Regions from separate parts of the Homo sapiens genome. Here all the other regions are linked to region 1. Evidence: promoter capture Hi-C in 16 types of primary human blood cells and fetal thymus (Javierre and others, 2016). All regions are on one chromosome and are shown on one strand. Each heading gives the region's core, a stretch centred on a gene start or on the middle of the fragment in contact. The rest is flanking DNA. Distances are from core to core; before and after follow the strand shown.

Evidence for each region. Contacts are between HindIII fragments. The CHiCAGO score rates a contact against its expected background, and 5 or more counts as called.
Region 2: a contact is called between a fragment that was not itself captured here and the fragment with the promoter of SCAPER in region 1, in 4 of 17 cell types (total CD4 T cells, non-activated CD4 T cells, activated CD4 T cells and 1 more). The highest score is 7.1, in total CD4 T cells.
Region 3: a fragment that was not itself captured here is called in contact with the fragment with the promoter of SCAPER in region 1 in 5 of 17 cell types (megakaryocytes, fetal thymus, erythroblasts and 2 more); the score reaches 7.4 in megakaryocytes.
Region 4: a contact is called between a fragment that was not itself captured here and the fragment with the promoter of SCAPER in region 1, in 6 of 17 cell types (naive CD4 T cells, total CD8 T cells, naive CD8 T cells and 3 more). The highest score is 7.9, in naive CD4 T cells.
Region 5: a contact is called between a fragment that was not itself captured here and the fragment with the promoter of SCAPER in region 1, in 4 of 17 cell types (non-activated CD4 T cells, total CD8 T cells, naive CD4 T cells and 1 more). The highest score is 5.9, in non-activated CD4 T cells.
Region 6: a fragment that was not itself captured here is called in contact with the fragment with the promoter of SCAPER in region 1 in 8 of 17 cell types (non-activated CD4 T cells, naive CD4 T cells, monocytes and 5 more); the score reaches 8.0 in non-activated CD4 T cells.

Annotation. Positions count from the first base shown.
Region 1 is chr15:76,903,884-76,906,752 of GRCh38, forward strand. It overlaps SCAPER (S-phase cyclin A associated protein in the ER), which reads right to left and starts at 1,457. Exons shown (of 32, transcript NM_020843.4): 1 at 1,416-1,457. RefSeq lists silencers at 1,033-1,112, 1,133-1,242, 1,253-1,562 and an enhancer at 1,303-1,803. The HindIII fragment of the contact is 6,645 bases long and covers 1-1,694 here.
Region 2 is chr15:77,483,968-77,486,836 of GRCh38, forward strand. HMG20A (high mobility group 20A) reads left to right here. Exons shown (of 10, transcript NM_001304504.2): 10 at 1-1,636. Among named protein-coding and RNA genes, the nearest start is that of HMG20A, 65 kb to the left of the region's middle. The HindIII fragment of the contact is 4,491 bases long and covers 1-2,869 here.
Region 3 is chr15:76,339,550-76,342,418 of GRCh38, forward strand. It overlaps ISL2 (ISL LIM homeobox 2), which reads left to right. Exons shown (of 6, transcript NM_145805.3): 4 at 727-1,010; 5 at 1,585-1,752; 6 at 2,170-2,869. The coding sequence ends at 2,286. LOC124903532 reads right to left here. Exons shown (of 1, transcript XM_047433420.1): 1 at 2,844-2,869. Among named protein-coding and RNA genes, the nearest start is that of ISL2, 4.2 kb to the left of the region's middle. RefSeq lists enhancers at 92-161, 182-391, 589-1,344. The HindIII fragment of the contact is 7,335 bases long and covers 1-2,869 here.
Region 4 is chr15:77,456,657-77,459,525 of GRCh38, forward strand. HMG20A (high mobility group 20A) reads left to right here. Exons shown (of 10, transcript NM_001304504.2): 2 at 1,748-1,840. The coding sequence starts at 1,752. Among named protein-coding and RNA genes, the nearest start is that of HMG20A, 37 kb to the left of the region's middle. The HindIII fragment of the contact is 878 bases long and covers 1,012-1,889 here.
Region 5 is chr15:77,440,560-77,443,428 of GRCh38, forward strand. All of the region lies in intron 1 of HMG20A (high mobility group 20A), which reads left to right. Among named protein-coding and RNA genes, the nearest start is that of HMG20A, 21 kb to the left of the region's middle. The HindIII fragment of the contact is 191 bases long and covers 1,326-1,516 here.
Region 6 is chr15:77,424,316-77,427,184 of GRCh38, forward strand. All of the region lies in intron 1 of HMG20A (high mobility group 20A), which reads left to right. Among named protein-coding and RNA genes, the nearest start is that of HMG20A, 4.9 kb to the left of the region's middle. The HindIII fragment of the contact is 2,385 bases long and covers 300-2,684 here.

The DNA.
Region 1 (2,869 bases), core at 207-2,706:
GCTCAGAAAAATTAATTTGCCAAAAACAAGGGTTGGGGCTGAGATTCAAACTCAAAACAGTCTGCCTTCAAAGCCATCAGATTACTTCTCCCACAGACAACCTTCCAAATCACATTAAAACTTGACTCTTTGATTGATTAAAAATATTAATTCTTTAGTGGATATCATTCTTCAAGTGGCATAAATCATCTGCAACCAACAAACTTTGAGGAAAAGTCATAGTTAACAGAAATAACAGAAGGGAAAGAGCACCAGTATAGGCCAGAGTGGGACAGTGGTCAGACTACCAACCTTAGGTCAGAAAACTTAACCCCAGATTTACCACTCACCAGCTGGTGATCTAAGGCAAGTAATAACCTTTTGAGCCCCCGTTTCTCCATTCATAAAATAAGTATTACTCCTAGCCCATCCATCCTTCTACCAGATTATTTATGAAGATGAAAAGTTAATGATGAAATTAATCCATAAACTAAGACAAACTATAATTCATATAAGGAATTAGTATCTGTTCGGTAAAATGACTATTAATGAATAGCTATTTTCATGGAAAATAACTTGTCACAACTAGAATAAGAGATGCAGTCCACCAGCAACAGGAAGCTGCTCACAAACAGGCGGCCTCATCTCAGCTGGGGCCCCCTTAACAGCAGCAGGTGTTGCTTACAGGACCAGTTTTGTGCCTGCTTTCTAACAATCCCGTTCCTCCCTGGTGCCGTTCCCACGAACGCGCCTGGAAAACGGTGTAGAGGAAAGGCGCCAAGGAAGTGCTGTTTTGGAAAAGAGCAGCAACAGAGGCAGGAGGCTGGGTCCCACTACTCCCAGGTGCGAGAGGCTCTTCGCCCCTCCAGGCCTCAGCGCACGCATCTGGAAGACGGAGAGGCCATTCCTGCCCCGTTTCCTGGGCAGAGCTAAGATCAGAGTACAGGGAAAGCATGGTAAACCCCGCTGGGAATGACAGATGACGAAGACGATCACCTGTCAAACGAAGGGAGGCTCCTCCAGGGGCCCCTCGCATTTAGACATTCCAGAAGCCTCGTCACCCGCGGCCGGGGCTGCCCCCAAGTGAGGTGACGCGGCAGCCCCCCACTCACCCCTCAGACCGCGTAGTGTGCGGGGTCTCACGTCCCTCACACCCCAGATGAGCCCGCAGGGCAGGGCCCGGACGCGGCTCACCCCAGCCCCCGTCCCGAGGCCTCCGAGGCCGACCTCCGAGCCCTCCCCAGGCGACCGCGGCTCCCCTCCCCCAGCAACGATCCCTGCCCCGCTCAACTCGCACTCCCAGGTGAGGGGAGGGGGTGAAAGGGCGTACCCCGCCGCCATTTTGTCCCCTGGTCCCCGCAAGGCATTCAGACGGCCCGCGCCCCAACCCGGACCCGCCCGGGTCTGCGCTACGCACGCCCCTCGCGGACACTCACCCCCGACCGCCCTGCTTAGTTCGGGGCGGCTCAAAGCGTCCCGCCGGGAAAGGGGCGTGACGGGGCGGGGCAGGGAGGCCTCGGAGAGGCGGGGTGGCTTCCCGGCGCACCACGTGATCTCAGCCGCTGCCGCGCCGCTCCCGGCTGCAAGATCTGTGTTGTCCGCGCGCAGGCGCACGCCCGTTCGCGCCGTTGGGGCGCCCAGGCGGGAGGTGTGAGGGTTGATTTGGTTCGATGTCCCGGCGCGGCGTTTCCGAAGCTGTTTCTTTTCCTAGGTTAAGCTTACACCGCCGCTTTTGGCCACACAGGTCTTTCTCGTACTCAATCTCTTCCCTCCTCCTGCCTTATCACCACAGTCAATCCACAGATTAAGGACTTAGAGACGCGCCTCACAGAAATCTGTGCTGGCGAAAGCACTTGACAGGAGCACGCTGGGCTGCGCTGAACACAACTAGGCCTCCGAGAAGCTTTATCAGGGCCCTTCTGTGTGCCAGGCTTGGAAGGTCGAAGTACAGAGACCTAACAAATACGTTTCATCTACTTCAAAGACAAACATATGATGAATTAAATACTTTAACGTTTAAATCAGTCTGAACAAAATAGAAAAAAGATTCAATGCAGACTGTAATTATCAAACGAATATTCACCGTCCCTTTTCATCCAGCTGGGAAACAGCTCTTTACCCTTCCCTCTCCCTCCCCACCCGCAGTAGGCGGGAAGTCCTGGACTCACAAGCGTTGTGGGGGCAGGAACCATATGGCTATGTTCTGGCTCCCCTTCTCTCTTGCCTTCTTAGAAAACTCGCTTTTTCATTTATTCAGCAAATGTTTATTGACCACATACTATATATCAGATGGTATTCTAGATGCTTGGAGTTAATACGTGAGCAAAATAAACAGAAATCTCTAAAAAACCTCCGGCTTCTTGGAGCAGGGTGAAACCAGGCAAGTGTTACATCAAGTTTAGCCAAAAGCTGTGTCCTTACATATTTTAAGTTCAGCCTGAAGGTTTCTCCGTAAATAGTAAACTATAACCTAAATGGAGGTGTAAATACACTGCAACCTACTCTTGCGCCAATCACCAAGTTTTGGCCAAAGACGGCCAACTGTTCAAACCGTGTTCAAATAAGGTAAACGTCTAGCTATAACCATTCTGGCTGTTTCCCTACCTCACTTTTCTTTCTCTGTCTATAAACCTTTTTCCACCATGTGGCTCTGCGGGAGTCTGTATGAACCTACTCTGGCTCAGGAGGCTGCCTGATTCGGGAATAATTCTTTGCTCAAACTCTGTTTAATTTGGCTAATATTTTGCTTTTAACACAAGAAATAGTAAACACAATAAATAAGTAAATTATATAACATGATAAGCACTACAGTTAACAAAATGAGTAGGATAAGGGGGATAGAGTAGGGAGCATACTACAATTCTATAAAAGGCGGTCAGGGCCTCATTTC
Region 2 (2,869 bases), core at 210-2,709, 580 kb after region 1:
AAGGAAGAATTCTCATGTCCTTTGTCTTCCTTCTGTAGCCATTAACTGCTGAATCCATGTGAGGAAGACAGGCTTCCCTTCCTTCCCCCTCCTTAGTGATTTTTTCTTTAACAGCATAAGTAAAGAGGACTTTCTGGTTCATTTTTGTTTGTTTTGTTTTGTTTTGTTTTGTTTACAGATGAGGTCTTCCTGTGTTGCCCAGGCTGGAGTGCGGTGGCTATTCACAGATGCTATCATAGCACACTACAGCCTACAACTCTTGGGCTCAAGCATCACGCCTAGCAGTTTCTGGTTCCTTTAACAGCAAAAGGAAAGAGAGGTTCTGATTCTTACCTCAGGGTTTTTTGGTTGTTCATTGTTTTTGTTTTTGTTTTTGTTTTGACACTGCAGAGCACAAGGCTAAAGGTTACAGCTGAGATCTTTGGAACCAAAGGCAGAGCAAGCAGAGCCCGTTGTCTGGGCCCCACACCACTGCAGGCAGGTGGATAGAAGTGCGGCCCCTCTCATAGTATGCCCATAAGTCAGGGCATAGGGCAGAACTACCTGTCATGTTGCTACACCATCCTGTCTTCTCAGCATCTCCTTGCCTGTTTTCTTTATTAGTCCAAAGGAAAACAACAGCAACAAAATCTGTTTTTAAAATGTCTTATATGAACATATATCAAATATCCATGCGCTGAAACCCACATACCATCACTTGGCAATTTTTTAGAATAAGACCCCATTATTATCTATTGCTATAAACCTAGCCAGTTCTCTTGCTCTTCTGTATTTTCCTATTTCCCTGCCATCATCTGCTATTTCTGCCACTTCTCTTAGACTCCTTGTCTGCAAAGCCCAAGCTAGAACTCACTGTCTATGGCAGAAGGACATCCAGAGCCCATTCTGGAGTTTTGTTTTTTCCTTCTGCCAGATGCTTTGTGTCCTGTCTTCCTTCCTCCTCATATTTCTGTTTCTCATTTGTGTTCAGTTTTGTGCAGCATTGCTAGCACTGCTTTTGTGACCAGAAAAGGCCATAACATGGTCCAGGATCATCATTCTTCTGACTCTAGATGGGACACTTGACAGTGACTTGAAACATTTGCATATTCAGGAATGCATGAGATTTCAAGAGAGCCTACAGTATGAAATCATTTTCACAAAATAAGCAGCTTGCTTCTGAAATGCTGTCTTTCCCAGTAGCTACTCACCTGCCTCTGGTGGCTGGGATTCAGATGCCACAAAACTGTCAGTATCTATAGACCAGGTCTGTGCCACCTCCTCTCTCCTCTGTGCTCAGTGAGGAGGCAGTAAATGAAGTTACAGGCTAGCACAATACCTAACTCATGTTTCCCAGTACACCTGTAGATATTACTGTACTTTTATGTTCTCAAGAAATAAGTTGTTGCCTATTCAGTGTTACAGATTTCTTTGTTTCTTTTTAATTAAAATACAAGAAGCAGCTGAGGAAAGGGAGACAAGGTATTTTATTTCTGACTGATTTTAGAAAAAACTTGTGTACATGTGTTTGGAACTGTTGAAATGCCAAGTTTTCTGTATAAGTGTTTTTGTAATTAAACTTTCAGATTTTCTTTGTTTTTTAAGAAGTTGATGTGCTTGTTTGACATTTGTCTCATTAAAACTTTTCTACGTTGAATTCACCTGTTTCAATTTTACTTGCTTTGTAACAAAAAGTCCTACCTCTGGCCGGGCACGGTGGCTCATGCCTGTAATCCCAACACTTTGGAAGGCCAAGGCAGGCAGATCACGAGGTCAAGAAATCGAGACCATCCTGGCCAACCTGGTGAAACCCCGTCTCTACTAAAAATACAAAAATTAGCCGGGCATGGTGGCATGAGCCTGTAGTCCCAGCTACTCAGGAGGCTTAGGCAGGAGAATCACTTGAACTTGGGAGGTGGAGGTTGCAGTGAGCCGAGATCGTGCCACTGCACTCCAGCCTGGCAACAGAGCGAGACTCCGTCTCAAAAAAATAAAAAATAAATAAAAAAGTTCTATTTCTGTTTTTTCCTCTTAAAGACTTTGTCAACTCTACATTAATCATGACATCTGTTATGCTTTTAAAACAGTAACACATTCATTTTACTAATTGCTACTTCAAAATGTATCTTTACCGGTTTGAGAAGTCAGCTCTTTTAATGTATGCTGTAACAATACAGTGAATTCTAATTCATTTTAATATAGCAGTAGTATTCTGAAGACAACTTACAAGGATGTTTTTAAAGTCAGTGACTCTGATGTCCCCTTGATAGAAGATCATTTGATAGAAGAAAGGAGATGTGCTTAAATGCTTGCTTTTTTTTTTTTTTTTTTGAGATGGAGTTTTGCTCTTGTTGCCCAGCCTGGAGTGCAGTGGCACGATCTCCGCTCACTGCAAACTCCGCCTTCCAGTTTCAAGCGATTCTCCTGCCTCAGCCTCCCGAGTAGCTGGGATTACAGGTGCACGCCACCATGCCCAGCTAATTTTTGTATTTTTAGTAGAGACAGGGTTTCACCATGTTGGCCAGGCTGGTCTTGAACTCCTGACCTTGTGATCCACCAGCCTCGGCCTCCCAAAGTGCTGGGATTACAGGCATGAGCCACCACGCCCAGCCAAATGCTTGCTTTTTGAAAATAACTAATCAAAATATTTTTAAAGGAAATTTGTCACCTATTTCTACTATGCTTTTAAAAATCCTAGGGGTGAGGCAACCTGGTTTCCAGAGCCTGCTGCTCTCCAAGTAGCCATTTGTGTGGCATTGGGCAAGTCTTGATTTGTTTCAACTCCAGTTTCCTCTTCTGACATAACACGTGCCTCAGCAATCCTGTACTATTGTAAGAAGGATAGAGTAAGGTAACAGAATCCACCTTGCCTTGGAGGACAGGAAGATAG
Region 3 (2,869 bases), core at 152-2,651, 560 kb before region 1:
CCCCGGGATGGAGAGAACCTGGGGCCAAGCGAGGAGAGTGCCAGCGGCTGCTCAGCACCTTGGTCGGTGGGAGGCCACTGGGCTGGGGAACCTGGAGCCTTGAGGAAGGAGACAGGGGCCGAAGCCCAAGGGCGGGCAGGAAGGAACTGTTGCAAGCCCTGGAGGCCCGTCCATAACCGTGGATGAGTCTTCTACACATGTGGCCTGGCCCTGTCCAAATGGGCTCTGAAGGAGGGGAAGGGCCCTCGTAGGCCCCCGGCATATTCGCACCTCCCACCCAGTCCCCTGGGCAGCGCCTCGCCCTGGGTCCACGTCGGTCCCTTTCCCTCTCCAGAGTCCTGGGCAAGCCTCTTTCCTCTTCCTCTGAAACTCCGACTTCTTCCGGAGGGCTTCGCTCGTTCCGAGGGTCCTGCGACTGGAGGAGGCACATCCCTGAGCAGCCACTCCCTCCCCGCAGCGGCCTGTCGCCGAGCTCCCGCGCCCTGCTTGAGCTCGGGAGAGATCGCTGCGGGGCAGTCCGGCCCGGGAGCGAGAGAAAGAACGAAAATGCACAGCTCTCTCCGAGTAAGGCGAACAGATGGAGAGGAAGACGAACAATTAAACGAAACAAACAGAATAAAACAGAAACGAAATCGGGCCCCGGGGGGCTGGGCCACCCGGAGGTTGGGCTCGGGGCGGGTGGGTGGCGGCCCCTCGCTAACCTCTGGCCTCACCCTGTCCTGGCAGACGCTGGGTCGGGCCGGCAGCCCGCGTTGCGCCCGCACGTGCACAAGCAGACGGAGAAGACGACCCGCGTGCGGACTGTGCTGAACGAGAAGCAGCTGCACACTCTGCGGACCTGCTACGCCGCCAACCCGCGGCCCGACGCTCTCATGAAGGAGCAGCTGGTGGAGATGACCGGCCTGAGCCCGCGGGTCATCCGCGTCTGGTTCCAGAACAAGCGCTGCAAGGACAAGAAGAAATCCATTCTCATGAAGCAGCTGCAGCAGCAGCAGCACAGCGACAAGACGGTGAGCAGCCGCTGGGCCGGAGGCTCGAGTCGGGTGGGGGCTGCGCTTCCGCCGCGGTATCTGCGTGCCCTTTTCTGGGCGAGCCCTGGGAGATCCAGGGAGAACTGGGCGCTCCAGATGGTGTATGTCTGTACCTTCACAGCAAGGCTTCCCTTGGATTTGAGGCTTCCTATTTTGTCTGGGATCGGGGTTTCTCCTTGTCCCAGTGGCAGCCCCGCGTTGCGGGTTCCGGGCGCTGCGCGGAGCCCAAGGCTGCATGGCAGTGTGCAGCGCCCGCCAGTCGGGCTGGTGGGTTGTGCACTCCGTCGGCAGCTGCAGAAAGGTGGGAGTGCAGGTCTTGCCTTTCCTCACCGGGCGGTTGGCTTCCAGCACCGAGGCTGACCTATCGTGGCAAGTTTGCGGCCCCCGCAGATCCCCAGTGGAGAAAGAGGGCTCTTCCGATGCGATCGAGTGTGCGCCTCCCCGCAAAGCAATGCAGACCCTAAATCACTCAAGGCCTGGAGCTCCAGTCTCAAAGGTGGCAGAAAAGGCCAGACCTAACTCGAGCACCTACTGCCTTCTGCTTGCCCCGCAGAGCCTTCAGGGACTGACTGGGACGCCCCTGGTGGCGGGCAGTCCCATCCGCCATGAGAACGCCGTGCAGGGCAGCGCAGTGGAGGTGCAGACGTACCAGCCGCCGTGGAAGGCGCTCAGCGAGTTTGCCCTCCAGAGCGACCTGGACCAACCCGCCTTCCAACAGCTGGTGAGGCCCTGCCCTACCCGCCCCGACCTCGGGACTCTGCGGGTTGGGGATTTAGCCACTTAGCCTGGCAGAGAGGGGAGGGGGTGGCCTTGGGCTGAGGGGCTGGGTACAGCCCTAGGCGGTGGGGGAGGGGGAACAGTGGCGGGCTCTGAAACCTCACCTCGGCCCATTACGCGCCCTAAACCAGGTCTCCCTGGATTAAAGTGCTCACAAGAGAGGTCGCAGGATTAACCAACCCGCTCCCCCGCCCTAATCCCCCCCTCGTGCGCCTGGGGACCTGGCCTCCTTCTCCGCAGGGCTTGCTCTCAGCTGGCGGCCGGTCCCCAAGGGACACTTTCCGACTCGGAGCACGCGGCCCTGGAGCACCAGCTCGCGTGCCTCTTCACCTGCCTCTTCCCGGTGTTTCCGCCGCCCCAGGTCTCCTTCTCCGAGTCCGGCTCCCTAGGCAACTCCTCCGGCAGCGACGTGACCTCCCTGTCCTCGCAGCTCCCGGACACCCCCAACAGTATGGTGCCGAGTCCCGTGGAGACGTGAGGGGGACCCCTCCCTGCCAGCCCGCGGACCTCGCATGCTCCCTGCATGAGACTCACCCATGCTCAGGCCATTCCAGTTCCGAAAGCTCTCTCGCCTTCGTAATTATTCTATTGTTATTTATGAGAGAGTACCGAGAGACACGGTCTGGACAGCCCAAGGCGCCAGGATGCAACCTGCTTTCACCAGACTGCAGACCCCTGCTCCGAGGACTCTTAGTTTTTCAAAACCAGAATCTGGGACTTACCAGGGTTAGCTCTGCCCTCTCCTCTCCTCTCTACGTGGCCGCCGCTCTGTCTCTCCACGCCCCACCTGTGTCCCCATCTCGGCCGGCCCGGAGCTCGCCCACGCGGACCCCCGCCCTGCCCCAGCTCAGCGCTCCCTGGCGGCTTCGCCCGGGCTCCTAGCGGGGAAAAGGAAGGGGATAACTCAGAGGAACAGACACTCAAACTCCCAAAGCGCATGATTGCTGGGAAACAGTAGAAACCAGACTTGCCTTGAAAGTGTTTAAGTTATTCGACGGAGGACAGAGTATGTGAGCCTTTGCCGAACAAACAAACGTAAGTTATTGTTATTTATTGTGAGA
Region 4 (2,869 bases), core at 201-2,700, 550 kb after region 1:
CCAGTCAAGTGAGTTCCCTAAGGTATATACCTGGCCATTTGAATGTTTGCTCACTATGGTTAGTCTGTATGGTATCTAACAGATATTACAGTTTTCTTTTGGTAAAATGAACATTGACATTGGTGTGAGGTGATGTTAGCAGCCCAGGCTTTAATCTCGCCTTTGTATTGTATAATGTGAATTAAAACTTAAGTACACTTGAGTCAGGGTTATTCAGTAAAACATGTGGAATGGAATTTTGTGGTATTTATTAGAGCTATTCCACTTGTAAACACCTTATCTTGAAGGAACTGAAAAGAGGTTGCAAGCATTCCTGCAGTAGAATAAAGTGCTTATGATGGTTGAGTGAGAAGTTCCTCTCTACCTTCCATGCTCTACCTACTGTAATGGGTAATATTTGTACAGAGATGTGTTTTTCCCATCAAGCTGTTTATGGAACTTGGCCTGCTAAATAATAAACTTAGAAGTGAGAATAAGTAAGAATAAGGAATAAAACATCAGTGTTATCTTTTGGAAATAAATCACTCCATTGAACATGGAGAATGTGGTCCTCGTGTCATCGGCATTTTCTTCATATTTCCACCTCAGTGGAGTGATCCTGGCTCTGCTTTGCCGCTGTGCTTTCCTTTTAATTGCTGTTTCACCAGGTCTCCTTAGCAGCAGCAGCGCCTGAAATAACTCCTGAGGAAGCTCCTAAGTGAATTCTCATAATTTGCTTCTCAATTCTCCCAATTGATTGAGGCACTCTTTCTTGAGTGCTTTGCAGTTCTGTGTAAGTGGCTGATGTTTGGGGTCACTGCTGAATGTTTTGTTTGAATATCCCTTTCATGATGAAGGGAAGACTGCTGCTTTTAACTACATGGGGTGATGCCCTTTGTGGTAAGCCTTGAAAGGCAAAAATCGTTTTTCATAGTGATATGCCAAATGAAATTATTCTCTTTGTCACTTTGTCCTTTTATCCTTTCAGTCTGATAACCTCAGTTCTTGTGATTTGTTTGTTTTCTTCAATTAAGCTTAGTTGTTTCCTGTACCCAGGTGCATGCTATTTCTGCTCTTGGTTATGATGGTGTGTGGAGCATATTTCTGACCTGGAAGTGTGGTTTCTTTGACTGAGAGCCACATCAGCATGCCTTCCATCCTCTACTTCCTTTGCATTATTTCCTTTTGGAGGGCTCAGTTTGCCATCATTTAATCTATAGATGATTCATCTGGGACTGAGAACTGGTAATGCTGTAATAACAATATCTTTCTTTATATAATACTCAATGCACTTACTACCTTAGATTTTCTCTGTTTATGGAGCACTTTCATTTTAATCTCTCACAATAACCCTTTGGGTTAAGTCAGCAATTTTGTCTTAGTCTAAGATGGTGAAATTGTAGCTCAAAGAGCTTAAATAGCTTGCTCAGAGTGGCAGTGCTTCTGAGTTACCCTGCTTAACAATTTCTACAGGAAATGAATACTTTTGAAGATACTCTGGATAAATAAAAAGGAATTTTCCAAACCACATCCCATTTGTTAAAACCTAACTTGTTTTCAGTCTGGTCAGTTGATAAGACCAAGGTTAAAAGGCCCATTTACCATACAGTTTAAATTGATGTGTCCAAGTCAAGAAAATAAATATTTAGGTCAGTTTTTATTCTGTTGCTTATATGATAAAGTTCAAGAAGGCTGGCTCTTAAATTAGTGGAACTTGAAATGGAAGTAATTAAGCCATTAATTTTTTTTTATTCTCTTTTCCTTTCAGAGAGATGGAAAACTTGATGACTAGCTCCACCCTACCGCCCCTTTTTGCAGATGAAGACGGTTCCAAGGAGAGTAATGATCTGGCTACCACTGGGTAAGCAGCTGCTTTAGGACACTGGACTTCTCCATAGGCCTCAAAACAAAGCTTCTAGCAAAGTAAGAGGTCCTAAAGAGGCAGTTTTATATCATAAGAATAGACGGTGCACTTGTTTCACTTTGCAAAGAGAGTGACAGCCATCATAAACCACTTTGTAATCTGCATTCAATTATCTTTTGCAGTGCTCTGGTTTTTGTGAACTGGTACAACAATATGTGGAATCTAGCAAACACTGGTGACTCCAGTTAAGAAAATTATATAGTCACCATTAAGGAAATACCTGCCACAGAGCTAGCTCTAAAAAACAAATGCATTTTTTCTGTTCAAATTACCACAGATATTAAAATAGTTTTTTCCCAAAGATCAGATTTTTTAATGTGGTTCTTTATTCAAGATGCTTAGTAACTTTAGCTGACTTCTGTTCCTTTCCCCATCCCACCCCCTTCTCCTTTCTGTGGGATCTTTTGACAAATATTTAAAGAGATATAGAAAAGGGTTAATAACAGTAGTCCACCTCTTCCCTTGAAAATCTCTGTTCCACTTGAATTTTTATCTTTTCTAGATGTTTAGAAGTTATTTGGCAAAGAGAAAGTGTGTTCACTAATAGACTGAAGTGCTAGCTAATCCCTAAGATGAATTATTTTAATATTCTTTAGAGCTGTTTAAAAAATAGGCTATACTTTGTAATTCTGTTTCCTTCCCTCACATTTATGTCTCACCTCGTTGATATCCGCCTTTGACCTCACTACTCAGATGAAAGTGTTCTCCAAGACTTTTCTAAAGGCTGCTTAGTTACTATATTCATTCAGTAAAAACTTTCTGAGTATCTGCTATGTGTCATTGTTCCAGGCATTAGATAGAAAGCATTGATCAAAATAGATAAAAATCATAGGCCTTTTAAAGTTCAAATTCTACTTGTTGAGTCAGACAATAAACAGGATAAATAAGCAAAACATATACTATGTTGATAAGAACTATAGTTTAAAAAAAGAAAAAAGTGGAGAAAAGGGATAGGAAGGGTTTGGG
Region 5 (2,869 bases), core at 171-2,670, 540 kb after region 1:
TATTTGTCCAAAGTGAGTCAACATGGGGCTATGCTATTTGTGGTCACTTAGACAACCAGGCGGATGTAAACTACATTATAATATATACTTCCACAGTCACTGTATTCAGGGGAAGGAAACATGGCAAATTGCTTATAGACTCAGATTTTCTGCCCAGAAGAATCATATGTCACTCACTTTCATTGCCCATGAGTTACATGGTCCTTGTGTCTTCTCTGAGGCAGTGAGGAAGTTTCCTCTTATGTTTCTGAAAGGAGATCTAAATATTTTTGAATAGCCATAGTGACTATCACAGTAAACATTTGTAAGTTACTTAACCCCTCTGTGGATCAGTTTGTTCACTATAAAATAGGTGCTAATGATAATATCTACTTGATACGGCAGATGTGTGGATTAAGTGGTATCATACACGTATAGCTCTTAAAATAGTGCCTGGTACTTAGTAAGCAATAAATTCTTGCTGCAATTATTGCTATCATTATTGTTATTAGGCTCTTACTATATGATGACACCATACTACCTGCTTTATTTACACAGATTACTTCTTGAGATAACTTCTATATAGTATGTACTATTACTCTTCTCATTTATAGGATAAGAAAACCTTGGTTTGGAGCTTTTGACTAGCTTGCCCAAGTTCCACAGCTAATACGTAAAAGATGAGATTGGAATCTAGGCAGTCTGACTCCAGAGCCCTCAGTATAAACTGAGACTCCCTCCCAGATAGCAAATAAATATGAACAGAATTCAGAAGTGCATACCATGCTTAGAGAACTCTGTGTTTGTTTGTGTACATATATGTTTATGGTTGTGATTTTATATTGAATTTTTAATATATTCCTATTTTCTGCTAGTTTGTTAGTGTTTCTAGTTCATATAATTAAATATACTGTTTCTCAGTATTCTATGTAGTCTGACAGCTAAACAAATTTGAAGTTGATTTTGTTCTTCATGAACAGGTGAAAAAACTTGAGCCAGAGTCATTTAGTGATCCCAGAAACCAGTTAGTTGGTAGTATATCCTGAACTCAAAGTCAGATTTCCTGACTTCGATTCAGAGCTCTTCCTACTGCCTCAGGTTGTCTCCTTGTAGTTTATGCAGCATATCATCCTTTATCAAATATTTGAGATGCTTTTTGTCTCCAAATTTTGAGTGAATTTGTTGTAGAAATCACAGTTAAGCTTTTTTTCCCTCATAGCTCACATTACTACATCTTGATTGTAATTTATCAACTTTGTCTTTTAAATATTCTAATGTTACTAAACACCCAGGGCCAAATTAAATATTTGGACAGAGTTTCTAGTAAGAATAAATGCCTCCAGAGAAGCTTCTGTGGAAAAATATTGTAATGATGAGCTTGAGAGTACCAATAACTTTTCTTTTTCGTGTAAGGCAATTTAGAGTCCAATTTCTGAAGGCACAGAGATGCCAGTGGAATTAGAGATGAATCAAACACATTACATTTTAGGTTTATCTTAAGGTATATTGGCAAGAAGTAAAACAACAACTTACCAAAAGCTTGTTACTTTTCCTGCCAGTGACATAAGAATGTACATATAACAACCTCAGATATATTGTAATTTTCAGAGTTAAACCTCTTAAGGAAATGCTGAGCTCATTTTCCTGGTCTGTTTTCCCATAATTAAATGGTATTCTTGTTTGATAATTTCAGTGTATTTTCATGTAACTTATCTGGAAAGTTAATAGGACATAAATTGAGTTAGAACTTCTCAATATATTGCTATATAGTGGAGATATTCAATAAGGAAGTCACAACACTTTTTTCCCCTCAGTATCAAAATATGTCAGTTATCTGTCAAGAAAATGAACTGAATCTGTGCTGTGTGTTATTGCACTCATGGGGAAATACTGTTTTGAGGCTACATGATCCTTGTCCTGGCCTCGTGCAATTTAAAACATTAATTCTTGTGTTAAAATAAATACTGCTTTATAAAACTGACTGCAGAATTTAAGGGAATTTTTAATATAAAGCATGAGGTTTATAAATTGTGCCCTTACTCTCCCTGCTAGACATGCGTACTCTTCTCTGCCCTATAGTCCTAATTCTGATGAGAGAGAGAAAGAATATATCATTAGCAACTATCTTTAAGGCATCTTTCAGCAATAAGCTAGAAACTCCTTGTTTGTTTGTTTTTGAGATGGAGTCTTGCTCTGTCACTCAGGCTGGACTTAGAAATCCTTCTAATGGTGTTTTTCTGGAAAGGGGAGTATGGAGAGTCTGGCAAAAAGGGAATTTTAGCTCTACGTGTAGCCATATTTTTTTTACAAAAAAGAAACTAAGTATTGCATGTGAAATTAAAATTTAATTTTAAAACATCTGTGATCCTTGATGGCACTTTTCCTCTTTCTTTAAAGTAACAAAACCATACTGCTGAAGGTTGAGTTTAAAACAAAGATTGGAAAGTAATTATTCATAATTTCACCACCCTGACATAACTACTTTGAACTTTTTTTTTTTTTTTTTTTTTTTGAGACAGAATCTCGCTCTGTAACCCAGGCTGGAGTGCAGTGGTGTGATCCCTCATCACTGCAACCTCCACCTCCCAGGTTTAAGCGATTCTCCTTCCTCAGCCTCCAGAGTAGCTGGGATTATAGGCTCCTGCCACCATACCGGGCTAATTTTTGTATTTTTAGTAGAGACAGGGTTTCACCATGTTGTCCAGGCTGGTTTTGAACTCCTGACTTTAAGTGATCTGCCCACCTCGGCCTCCCAACACTTTGAACATTTTGATGTGTTTCCTTCCAATCTTTGTTCTTATATATCTATTTTTTATGATGATGATGATGATGATGATGATGATTATTATTATTATTATTATTATTATTATTAAGTTAGGGTCTCACTCTG
Region 6 (2,869 bases), core at 242-2,741, 520 kb after region 1:
TGAAAACAAATGAGAGTGAACAGTGGGGAAAATATGGGATCAGATAGGCCCAAATTCAGCACTGGTCTCTGCATTTTACTGGCTGAGCTTACTAGCTTGGTAACCATGAGCAATTTATTTGACCTCCCTAAGCCTCAGTTTTCCTAAATCCAAATGGGGTTGTTTGGTGGAATCAGAATGTTGTATGTAAATCTCCTGGTCCAATGCCTGGTGCCAGAAGCTTCATTAATGCAATTATCTTACCCCCAATCTTGCTTCTGCTACTCTGGCTATTGTGATTTGCCCACATGTCTGTTTTAAGCTTTACATTTTCCCCACAGTATGGGATGCAGTGGTAGACTGACTGAGCTTCAGCCTTGTCCCCCTATCAGCATGCTCACACAGTTGTCAAGATTTAATTTTTTTTCCTTGTGGGAAGGAGAAATCACTAATTTCCATGATTAGAAGATATACAAAATAGAAAAGTTTCAAGAAAAGGAATCTTAATCTTGGCACAAATCACTAAGGTAATTTGAATTGTTACAGGCAGACTTTCAACTCATTCTCCTAAACTTATTTAAATACGAAAACCAAAAATGACCTTTCACACTATGATCATACCTCACATTATTCATCTACACATCCAAACGGGATCGCCTCTGGGGGGAAAAAAATCTGTACTGCACCCAGCATTAATATTTTTTTTTGCTCATGCTATTTTCTGCCTGAAACACTCTTTTTTCCTAGGAATCCCCATCTATCAAAATGCCACTTTCTTTGAGGTCGTTTCTCAAGTACCACATTTAAGAAATATTTTCTGATATCCATCCTCTTCTACACTCTCCCAAACTGTACACGTTCTGTCCATTAACTCTCCAGAGCATTATACCTTTCTTACAGCACTTACTGTCCAGTGCTCCTCTTGTTTGTTTTTATTGCGTTGTTGTAGGTAGAGTTTATGCCTTCCCTAAAAGGCTGCAGACTAGGTCTTATTCCACTCTGTGCTGTCATACCTGGCACAAGACCATTCACATCATAGGTATTCAGTAAATATTTGTGGACGTGAGCTGGCTCTTGGAGTATGACAAAACTGATCAATAACTTTTGTCCACAATTATGCCCAGCATCAGCACAATGGCTATCATACATTAGACACTCAAATATCTATAAAATGAAAGAGTGAATAGTAAGTCATCATTCTCTCATTTGGGAGCTTCTTAGGGTGTCAGATAAGCATATATTAAGCACCTCCTATATAACTGGAGCTGTAAGAACTGATCTCTGCTCCTCAATTTAATTGGAAAAAAGTAAATTGTTACTAATATCTGCAGACTTTGAAGATGGTAGGTGTTTGAGTAGGGATGGCATGGAGAGCTTAATATAGAATTGTTTGCATTGTGAGAGATACCCTCTGCTACCTGAACTCAGAAACCAAATAGATTTTTATATCAAATATTTGGACACTTAACTTGTATTTCCACTCCTAGGTATATATCCAAGAGAACTTAAAACATGTTCACACAAAAACTTGCACACAAATATTTGTAGCAGCCTTATTTGTAAAAGGCAAACTCAAATGTCCATTAATTATTGGATGACTAAACAAAATGCGATATAGCCATACAATGGAATATTATTCAGCAACAAAGAGAAACAAAGTAGCAATACCTGCTGTAACATGGATAAAACTTGAAAATATTAAAGTGAAAGAAGTCACATACAAAAGGCAACCTATTATGTGATTCCATTTATTTAAGATGTCTAGATTAGGCAAAACTAATAGAGACAGAAAGTACATTAGTGGATGGGAATGGGAGTGACTGCTAGTATGGAGTTTCCTTTGGAAGTGATGAAAATGTGCCAGAATTAGATAGTGGTGGTGGTTGCATAACCTTATATACTAAAATATCTTGTATACTAATATACAGTTGACACCTGAACAATGAGGGGGTTCGGGGTGCTAACCCCTGTGTTGTCAAAAATCCATGTATAACTTCTGACTCCCCAAAAAGTTAACTACGTAAATAGCTTACTGCTGACTGGAAGCCTTACCAATAGCATAAATAGTTGATTAACACATGTTTTATATGTTACATGTACTATGTACTGTATTCTTACAATAAGCTAGAGAAAGAAAATGTTACTAAGAAAATGATAAGGAAGAAAAAATATGTTTACTATTTATTATTCGTTAAGTGGAAGTGGATTATCATAAAGGTATTCATCCTTGTCATCTTCACATTGAGTAGGCTGAGAAGGAGGAAGAGGAAAGGTTGGTCTTACTGTCTCAAGTGGTGGAGGCAGAAGAAAATCAGCATATAAGTAGACTCATGCAGTTCAACCCATGTTGTTCAAGGGTCAACTGTACAAAAAAAATCCTGAAATATACACTAAAGGGGTCAGTTTTATGGTATGTGAATTATATCTAAAAGAGAGAGATACTTAGACTTGAAGAATAGAGAATTTTGAATGGAGCCAGAAGAAAGAAGCAAGAGGTGTGAAAGCAAGGAAATGATCATTCTTTCTCAGATCCTAGAGAGAAATATAAGCAGCTAGGTACAGGGCTAAAGGTATGTTAAGGATCAGGTGAGGATGGATATGAGGATAGCTTCTGGGTTTTTGTCTTAATGTAGCAGGGATTTTGGTAAATACTTAGACTACAGAGGTATTAACAAAGGAGAAAAACATCTTATGACCTTGAAGGAAGCTTCAGATTTCTTCTTGATTAGGTCAAGGATGTGGTATATGGTCTTTTTGGTTTCTGTGTTACGGTCAGCTGAGTTTAAAGAGTGGGAGTATTCTAAGGTAAGGAGTCTAGTAGCAATCAAAACAAAGTTACTGGGGAAGATGGGAGAATAGAGACTAGACAAAGATGTTAGAATTTGATTCT